2 separate regions of the Homo sapiens genome follow, and region 1 is linked to region 2. The links are contacts of gene promoters, found by promoter capture Hi-C in human tissues and cell types (Jung and others, 2019). All regions are on one chromosome and are shown on one strand. Each heading gives the region's core, a stretch centred on a gene start or on the middle of the fragment in contact. The rest is flanking DNA. Distances are from core to core; before and after follow the strand shown. Region 1 overlaps NAPA (NSF attachment protein alpha). Region 2 holds the start of CYTH2 (cytohesin 2).

The links. Contacts are between HindIII fragments. The study calls those that stand out against the background at their distance.
Region 1: a fragment that was not itself captured here is called in contact with the fragment with the promoter of CYTH2 in region 2 in 1 of the 25 tissues and cell types used here (heart right ventricle).

What each region holds. Positions count from the first base shown.
Region 1 is chr19:47,501,434-47,506,213 of GRCh38, reverse strand. NAPA (NSF attachment protein alpha) reads left to right here. Exons shown (of 11, transcript NM_003827.4): 2 at 2,712-2,791. It overlaps NAPA-AS1 (NAPA antisense RNA 1), which reads right to left. Exons shown (of 4, transcript NR_038452.1): 4 at 4,617-4,757. Among named protein-coding and RNA genes, the nearest start is that of NAPA, 11 kb to the left of the region's middle. The HindIII fragment of the contact is 4,210 bases long and covers 1,091-4,780 here.
Region 2 is chr19:48,466,052-48,470,856 of GRCh38, reverse strand. It overlaps CYTH2 (cytohesin 2), which reads right to left and starts at 1,488. Exons shown (of 12, transcript NM_004228.7): 1 at 1,331-1,488; 2 at 357-504; 3 at 188-254. The coding sequence starts at 1,349. LOC105372430 (a long non-coding RNA gene) reads left to right here and starts at 1,324. Exons shown (of 3, transcript NR_186576.1): 1 at 1,324-1,846; 2 at 4,250-4,288. KCNJ14 (potassium inwardly rectifying channel subfamily J member 14) reads right to left here. Exons shown (of 3, transcript NM_013348.4): 3 at 3,877-4,805. RefSeq lists a silencer at 1,283-1,472 and enhancers at 836-1,829, 2,023-2,182, 1,887-2,387. The HindIII fragment of the contact is 6,294 bases long and covers 1-4,805 here.

The sequences.
Region 1 (4,780 bases), core at 1,946-4,445, 970 kb after region 2:
CCAGCCTGGCCAACGTGGTGAAACCCTGTCTCTACTAATAATACAAAAATTAGTAGGGTGTGATGGCACACATCTGTAATCCCAGCTACTCAGGAGGCTGAGGCAGGAGAATTGCTTGAACCCGGGAGTTGGAGGTTGCAGTAAGCTGAGATCGTGCCACTGTACTCCAGCCTGGGCGACAAGAGCGAAACTCCATCTCAAAAAAAAAAAAAAAAAAAAGAAGTCACTCCAAACAAGGCCCAAGGTGTGTTGGGCTGGCTGAGGTGAGGTGGGTGAGGGAAGACAGAGTGCAGCAGGGCGAGTGCGGGAAGAACACATTGCTCAGGGCCACTTCCCAGGGACAGCAGAGGGTGGGGGACAGCATCAGCACAGCCCCAGAAGGCAGAGGGTAGGCTTTTCATCTGGCAAGATGACAGAGAGGATAGGAATAAATAGATTATTTACCTGGTGTGATGTGGATTCAGGAGGCCAGGATCCCTGGCCCAACCAGCCCGCCCACCGTGGGGGCATTTATTTGCCTGCTGACATTGCCAGGCCTGGCCGCTGATCTGATCGCTGGTGGCTGCTTTCCAGGTAGTCGGTCTCAGTCAATTTTTCCTTCTCAAACTCACCTGATCAGCTGAATTACCTGGGCCCCCCAAACCCCAATTGTTAAAAATCTCATTTGCAGGCCCCATCCAGACCCTACTGAGCGAATCCCAAAGTGTGTGGCTGTGGGACTCTGGTTTGATGAAATGAGCACTTCATGTGGCTGAAAGGGATGGGCAGGTTGGACACACTGAATCCGCAGTGCAGAGGGAAGGAATGCTCACATCCCAGCTCCCAAAATTACCTTTGAGCCCCTCCACAGCTGGGGTTGGTGTGGACAAGTTCCCAGGTATAATGTTGGGCCAGTTGACACAGGGTGTGGGATGGGATGGTGAGGATGATTTGAATGGGAAAGTACCCACTCCTCCCTTTTCTCTTCCTTAAAAATAAACTAAACACTAGTTATGCCAGTGAAGAGAGGCCCTGAAATCCATTTGGTGGGACTCCAGAGTGTGTGGATTTTATTCTACTGATTATGTAGATATTGGGAGTTTGAGCAGTTACAGAGACTACAGACCTCGCGGGCTAAGCCTGGTTGTATTATTAAGGGCAGAAGAATGCAGTGGGACTTACGGGTTTGAGGTACTAATGAGGTCCCCCAAGTCAAGAGGAGGCTCATTATGTACATGTGGAGGTCAAGAAGCCAGAGTGAAGCTGCCCAAACAGGGTACCCTTTATGTTTTCAAATTCCTGTCTATCTCCCAGTGTATCCCTACTGTTGGACAATAAGTTTTTGGGGGGTTTTGCTGTTTTAAATAATGCTATGCTGAACATCCTTGTAACTTTTCTGATTAGTTTTTTTAGGATAAATTGCTAGAGATGTAATTCATTGCTGGACCACAGGGCCAAATATAAATCCTAATACTTAAAAATATGTGTGTGTGTGTGTCTGTGTATGTGTAAATGTATAGATATATACACACATATATACACATACACATATATACACATGTGTATATATGTACACGTGTGTGTATATATGTATATATTTTTTTTCTCGAAAAGATGTACAAACAGTTAAAAAAAAATTCAGACAGTACAAATACGGGATGTCCAGTGAATAAGTCTGCCTCCCACACCTGGCCCTCCTTCTGCAGGCTTCACCTTAAGAGAAAAATGCTGTTACTAGGTTTTTGTGTATTTGCCCAGAAATATCCTATGTTTATATAAACATGTATGTTTCTATTATTTTCACTCTCTTTCTCTTTTTTTTTTTTTTTTTTTTTTTGAGACAAGGTCTGGCTCTGTCGTCGTCCAGGCTGGAGTTCAATGGTGTGATCTTGGCTTACTGCAACCTCTGCCTCCCAGGCTCAAGTGATCCTCCCACATCAGCCTCTCTAGTAGCTAGGACTACAGGCGTGCACCATCACACCCTGCTAATTTTTTGTATTTTTTGTAGAGTTGGGGTTTTGCCGTGTGGCCCAGGCTGGTCTCGAACTCTTGAGCTCAAGCAATCCGCCAACCTTGGCCTCCCAAAGTGTTGGGATTACAGGAGCCATGAACCACCACACCCAGCCCACCCTCTTTTTTTTTTAAACACAAATGGGAACATCTTATATCTACACTTTAAAATAGTGCTTCCCATTTCTTTGTATGGCTGTGTGATATATATGCCCAGTCCTGAGCTGGTAATGACACACTCCAGGGCTGCAAGGTCTTTATTGAGCAACCACAGAGTGCAAGGCACAGGATTAAGGCTGCCTCTGCGAAAGCAACACGATGTCTTAAACTGGGCTAGTCCCCCAGAATGCTTTGCAGTCTCCCGGGGAAAGGGGATTTGTAGCGCGCCTGGGACCCAGTGGGCCCCTAGTATCCCAGGCAGGAAGTAGAAGAGGCTGTCAGACCCTGGGGTTGTGGTGGGGTCAGGAACTCTTCGCCCCACTACCCCAGCAAGCACCCAGTATCTACCCCAGTACTCCCGGAGGGAGCTGGTCTGCCCGAAGTGAGTGTGCCATTGTATGCAGGGGCGGGGGCCACAGACTCAAGAGGCCTGGGGGAAGCTGGCTTCACAGGTGAAGGGTGAGGGGTAGGGGCACGTCTGTGCCCGGCACTGGAGCAGAATGCTTGCTTTCTCCTGGATAGCCGACTAGATTGTCTCCTTTTTTTCTTTCCTTTTTCCCCAGAGGCTCATCCAAAATAGAGGAAGCATGCGAAATCTACGCCAGAGCAGCAAACATGTTCAAAATGGCCAAAAACTGGAGTGGTATGTCATCTCCGCTAGAGCTCCTCCAAGGTGCTCTCCTCCTCCCTCAGCTTCCACTCACACAGGCCTGCCCGAGAGGTTGGCCTTGAGGGCCCTTTCTCTTTGTATGCCCTCTCCGGCATCGGAAAGCCACTGGCCTGCTCTCTTGTTTTGTGCCTGCTGGGTTACTTTATACTCTGGGTCATGGGGCCTTGGTGAAAGGACAGAGAGGATGGGAATAAATAGATTATTAGACCTAGATAAACCCATGTGGATTGATGAGCTCTTAGAGTCCTCCTTAAATTCAGAACTTCAGGTTTCCTGGTAACTTCCTTAGTGCTTCCATCAGTGTCTAAATTCTAGGCTGGGGGAGGATGTTCAGGTGATTCCAATAACAACGTGAATCATGGCTGCTGTTTGTTGAGTCCTAAGTGCTCATCATTTAATTGCGTTAGCACAGCAGCCCTAAGGGTCAGTCTATAAATATCCCTATTTTACAGATTTGGAAACTGAGGCTTGGCTTAGTCTCTTGCCCAGGATGCCAGAACTAGTAAGTGACAGAACCAAGATTCAGAAACCAAGGCTCTGACTGCAGAGCCTGAGTGTTTAACCTGCCCCAGTGAGGCAGGATAGCTTCACAGAGGAGAGGGGTGGGGAGGAGCCCCTTGGGCTCAGGGAGGCTGGAGATCTGTTTGGAGCTCCCTGCAGGCCCAAGAAGTCCAACAAGCCAGTGTGTTGAGCCCTTTCGAGGCTCATTTCATCATACATCTTTCATGTCACCAAGATTGAATTAAGGAAATACGGCAAGAGACCCAGTGTTTGAATGCAGGGAGGAACTTCTGACTGTGGAGGAGAGGGAACCTGGTGGTGGGACCATGGAGGCAGGGTGCAGAGGTGCACAATAAAATTGATTATCATCGTTTTTGAGAATGTTGTTGGTTTCCCCAAAATTCAAAGAGTTATTCCTGAGTTTTCACAAAATACGTTGTGAATAAAGCCAAATGTTTTTTGTATTTTTATGCTCCCAAACTTAGAAAATTCCTCTAGAGAAAAAAAGCTTATTTTTTAATTACATAGGTGTTGCTTTTCCCCTAAAATTTGTTACCTCTGCCCCCAAACTCTTCAAAGAAAAGCCCTAGGCCATTTCCCCCCGGTAATATCCCCTTTTCTTGAAATTTTTTTTTTTTTTTTTTTTTTTTTTTTTTTGAGACAGTCTTGCTCTGTTGCCAGGCTGGAGTGCAGTGGCGCGATCTTGGCTCACTGCAACCTCCGCCTCCCTGGTTCAAGTGATTCTCCTGCCTCAGCCTCTTGACTAGCTGGGATTACAGGCACGTGCCACTACGCCCAGCTTATTTTTGTATTTTTAGTAGAGACAGAGTTTTACCATGTTGTCCAGGATGGTCTCCATCTCCTGATCTCGTGATCCGCCCACCTCGGCCTCCCAAAGTGCTGGGATTACAGGCATGAGCCACCGCGCCTGGCCGTAATTTTATACTCAAATTTGGAACTCTTGAAAATAATGAAATCATATAGTGAAAACCCGGAAGGCTTTGTCTTTTCTGCTGCTCAAAACTTAAGAGGATAGGGCCAGGCCTCCTGGTCCTCTTCCAGCTTAGAAACTCTGACTCAGATTCAGCTGGAGGAGAATGAAGGGGAGAAGCCTCAGAGCTGAGCTGGAGGTGGTCAGCTGCACGAGGAGGAGGAGAGATGCTGCTGCCTCCCAAACGTCAGTTAGGAGATGTGTGGGCAGAATGGCTTGGGACCCACAGAAGCTGACCGTGTGCAGATGAGCACAGGATGGATGAGGCTTCAGGCACGGTCTCTTCTGCCCTCCGCCCATGGGCACTGGTCTGCATGTATTCATTCTTGCTGTCCACATCCTGTTTCCCTCTCTGGACATGCAGCTCCTGGAGGGAGCCGGCTCTGTGTTGTCCGACCCCAACTCCATGAGCCTCACAATTCATGCAAGTGCCTTGTCCATGGGGATCTGCAGTGAAGGGAACAGAATGT
Region 2 (4,805 bases), core at 239-2,738:
TGGAACACTTGGTCAGTGTTCAGTGTTCAGAAAACAAATGGACAGCCAGTATCTGAATCCAGGGATTAGGACCAAGTCTGTCCACCTAGAATAGACCCGGCACCATCACGCTTCTGGAACCCGGAGGTGCCAGAAGCCCCTGCCTGGATGTTTGCCCAGCTGATCCCAGTCCTGTGGCCCCAAGCACCTTCTTGGGGTCCATGTTGAACTTCTTCCTGCCCATTGCCATCTTCCGGTTCCGTTGCAAGGTCTTACTGCAGGAGCAGAGAGCAGGGTTGGGGGTGGAGGGTCAATGCCTGGGCATCCCTGGCCTCAGCCAACCCCACGCCCCCTAGGTCATCCGCCCCAGCCCTCACCTGCCCTCATTGGCCTCCAGCCCCTCCACCTCGCTCATGGCTTCACTGAGCTCCTCCCGCAGGCGCTGAATCTCCACCAGCAGCTCCTGCTTCCGCCGCCGGATGTTCTCCAGCTCCATCCGCTCCTCCGGAGTCAGGTCTGGGGGTTCTAGGGATCGGGGTCAAGGTTTAAAAGTCAGTGCTAGGGGCCGTGAGCCTGAATTCCTGCAATCTGGGGGCGGACAGAGCTGGGAGAGGATGTGTAAGGGGCTTCCTATGTCTGCACAGAAGAATGGGCTGGGGGCCTGGATTCCTCCCTGCAGAGGAGAAAGAGCTGGGGCTCTAAACTCTTGAGTCCTGGGGGACAAGGGGAATTGGGGCCCGGATTCCTGAGTCTGAGGGAGAAGGGGAATGGGTGCCTGAGCTCTTAGATCTGAGGGAAGAAAGGGCTGGGGGCCTCGGCTTCTAGGTCCATTACTTGGAAGGGGACTGAGGCCTTGGTTTTCTGACTCCATTACTGGCGAGGTAGCTGGGGACCTGGTTATCCGGACTACTGGGTCCATGAAAAGTCACTACAGCCGGGGGAACTGATGACAGCTCAGGAGAGTTGGGAAGGTGGGGCGGGACATCGAAGGCCCCCGCCCCCCAAGATTTCTCCCCTCCCCGCAACCCAAGCGCCCCTCCCCGGCCCCGGCAGGCGCTGGGCTCGCCCGCCCCTCCAGCGGGAATGGTTCCGCCCCGGCCTCGCCTCCACCACTCCATCCCGCCCCTCCCGCCGCCACCGGAAACAGGCTCAGCCCAAACAATGGCCTGGAACGCCCGGCTTTCGGGCCCCGCCGGAAGCCCGTCCAGCGCCCAACAAAAGCGGCGCGACAAGTCTACGACTGAGCCGAACGCTTCTGGGCGCCGCGCGCCAGGGGGAAACGTTCGCGGCGGAACGTTCAGGAGAAAACGCTCCAGCAACTCCCAGCCGACCCCGCCCCTCCCCGACCTACCATAGACGCCGTCCTCCATGGCGGCTAGGAAGGCCCGCGGGGAATCCGGGGCGGTCCCGCCAGTCGGGCCTGGATCCGCGTTGGCCCGCGGGCTCGGGTGAGCCCGCTCAAACGCCCCGGGAGCCACCGCCGCCTCCTCAGCGCCAGTCCTCAGCGCTGAAAAGACTCTTCCCTTCGTCGCCCAACCGCCCCTTCAGTAGGGACCGCCCCTCTTTTTGACACTGTCCAATCCACAGTGGGCGCTTTCGTCCTCCCCGCCCTCGCCACCAAAGGATCGTTCTCCAGGGCCAACAGTCGTACAAAAAGCCGGTGTAGGTATGTCCGGCCAGAGGTAGACGGCCCGCGGGGCCAATCGGAGTGCAGGCAGGGCAGCAGGCCCCGCCTCCGAAACAACAGAAAGCACTTGACAGGCTTGCTCTCCAATGAGAAGCCCCGGAAAAGTGTCGCGCGGAGGCGGAGCCACGCGGTACAGCCACCTCTGCGCCTGCTCAAAGGCCCTGGACACTTGGAGTCTAGGTAAACCGAGCCCCGCCTCCGATAATACGTTGCTAGGGGGCGGTACTTTGTTAGTCTTGTTGCTAGGAGGCGGGGCTAGAACTGGCTTGTTTCCGTAAGCCACACCTCCTAGCAGGCCATGCTGGCTTCTGACCGCAAAGGTTGCCATGCAACCGGGAGCGGCTTTAGGCCTCCTTTTCTTTTGCATTTCTTCTCCGCGTATTTCCCCTCCTCTCAGCCCCTTCTTACCGCCGAACTCCTTCTTTATCACCATCTATGCCCTCCCCATCCCCCTCAGCCTCTTCGGAGTCGTGGAGTGGTGAAACAAAAGACTTCTTCGTTTTTTCTTTTTTTTTTTTTTTTGAGACAGAGTCTTGCTCTGTCGCCCAAGCTGGAGTGCAGTTGCGCGATCTCGGTTCACTGCAACCTCCGCCTCCCGGGTTCAAGCAATTCTCCTGCCTCAGCCTCCCGAGTAGCTGGGATTACAGGGTTGCACCATGATGGTGCATGCCTGGCTATTTTTTGTATTTTTAATAGAGACGGGCGTTTCACCATGTTGGCCAAGCTGGTCTCGAACTCCTGACCTCATGATCCGCCCACCTTGGCCCTCCAAAGTGCTGGGGTTACAGGCGTGAGCCACCGCGCCTGGCCAAGATTTACTTTTTTCTAAATGCTATGCTATTTGGTATCGGTCATGGGGAATGGAACAGGGGAAGGTGAAATTTAGTGAAAGCACAGGCTCGGCCTTCCTGGCACCTTCTGCCGCTCAGACTCCTCCCTCATTTCTCCAAACTCCTTCCTTTAGCTTAGCATCCTCCTAAGACTCCTCCCTTCCCCAAGCATCCTCCTGCTAAGACAACTCCCCTTTCCTCAGCATCCTCCCACCTCTCTGATTCCTTCTCCCATCTCAGAGGCCTTTTTTCCTCTCTGGCTCCCCTCACGTCACGGTCCCCCTTGTCCTCTCATACTCTTGCCCTTTTTTTTTTTTTTTTTTTTTTTGAGACAGAGTTTTGCTCTTTTGCCCAGTCTGGAATGAACTGGCATGATCTCAGCTCACTGCAACCTCCACCCACAAGGTTGACGCGATACTCCTACCTCAGCCTCCCAAGGAGCTGGGATTATAGGCGCCCACCACCATGCCCGGCTAATTTTTGTATTTTTAGTAGAGACGGGGTTTCGCCATGTTGGCCAGGCTGGTCTCAAACTCCTGACCTCAGGTGATCCACCCGCCTCAGCCTCCCAAAGTGCTAGGCGTGAGCCACCGTGCCCATAGGCGTGAGCCACCGTGCCCAGCCACCCTTGCCCTTCTTAAACTCCTCCCTCCTCTGAGGCCCCTTCCCCTTCCCCTTCCCCAGCCTCTATGTCCCATTATTTGTAACGGAATGTGGTCAAGGGACTGGCTGGAATAGGGAACCCAGGCACCCCTGTAAAGAGGGAAGCCGTAATGGGGGCTGAAGTGGTGTCTGGGCCTCGTCCTCATTTGCTGTCCCTGGGCTGGGCAGGTGGAGACGGATTCAGGGCCAGGACCTAGTTAAGCTGTCGGATTAGACATGGAGGCTCCTAATCCCCTCACTGACCTTTATGAGTGGCCCAGGCCCTGCCCTCCCCAGTGGAAACCCAGGCTGGGCTGCCCTGCTCCCATACTCCTTTCAAACGAAACCCCCTCCCTGCCCCTTCACTTCCAACTTAACATCCTTCCCCAACCCTGCGTTTCCATTGCCCCCATCCCTACCTACCCCAGACACCCTGAGCTGAGAGAGCAGCCAGCTAATTAATCCCATCCGGTTATTACATGGGGATTCTGAGGGATAAAGGGAGATGGAGAAGCTGGAGGGGGCATTTGGGTTGATGCAGCACTTGTGAAGGCTGAATGGCAATGACAGTGGCTGCCCTCGGTCCAGAACACGGGGTGGGAACACGTCCTCCTCACTGTCACTGGCTCCCTCTGCAGTTGGCTCCCAGCCTGCGGGGCACTTAGGTAGATGGTAGCATGGGCAGGGGGCCAGGTCGGAGGACCCATGCTCGAGAAACACATTCGCAGACACATCCGCTAGGGCTCCCAGTTCTTTAATCTGGGGGACAGGTCTCCCCCTAAAACACTCACTCTCCCACAATGGGAAGAACCCTGGTGTCCAGAGCTACCTCCTCCTCCCCAGGTCCCCAAGCTAGGCCAGGGAAGTGACTCTGGCTGTTAGCCACAGCCCACGCCTACCCTTGCCCTGTGATTCAGACACCCGAGTTCAGAGCCAGCCTCCAAGAGTATCTTACATCCCAGCGTCTCCTGGAAGGCCGTATGATCCAGCACTGGGGAGAGGAGGGAAATCCCCAGGACTCGAATGCCCATCCCACCCTTGGTGTAGTGAGGACTCATCCTGCTGGAAAGGCCCCTGAAGAACTTCAAGTTCCAATATCCCGTTTTTACAGATGGGGAAACTGACATGAAGAGGAGTCCAAAGTGACACAGTAAGTTGGGGCAGCATTGGGATTTAGAGCAAAGCTTCTGGGGTCCTTGAAAAGGACCTCATTCCAATTAGCTAGCACTCCATCTCTAAGCCTGTTGTAGGGACCAAGGGAAAAAATAGATAGATATCTGTATTTATATTACATATATATAATATACATATGTATAATATCTTTAAGAAACAGACACACGGCTGGGCATGGTGGCTCACACCCGTAATCCCAGCACTTTGGGAGACCGAGGCAGGTGGATCATCTGAGGTCGGGAGTTCAAGACCAACCTCGCCAACATGGCGAAACCCCGTCTCTACTAAAAATACAAAAATTAGCCAGGCATAGTGGCTCATGCCTGTAATCCCAGCGACTCAGGAGACTGAGGCAGGAGAAACACTTGAAGCCGGGAGGCGGAGGTTGCAGTGAGCTGAGATCACGCCATTGCACTCCAGCCTGGGCGGCAGAGCGAGACTCAGTCTCAAAAAAAAAAAAAAAAGAAAAAGAAAAAGAAATAGACACACATCAC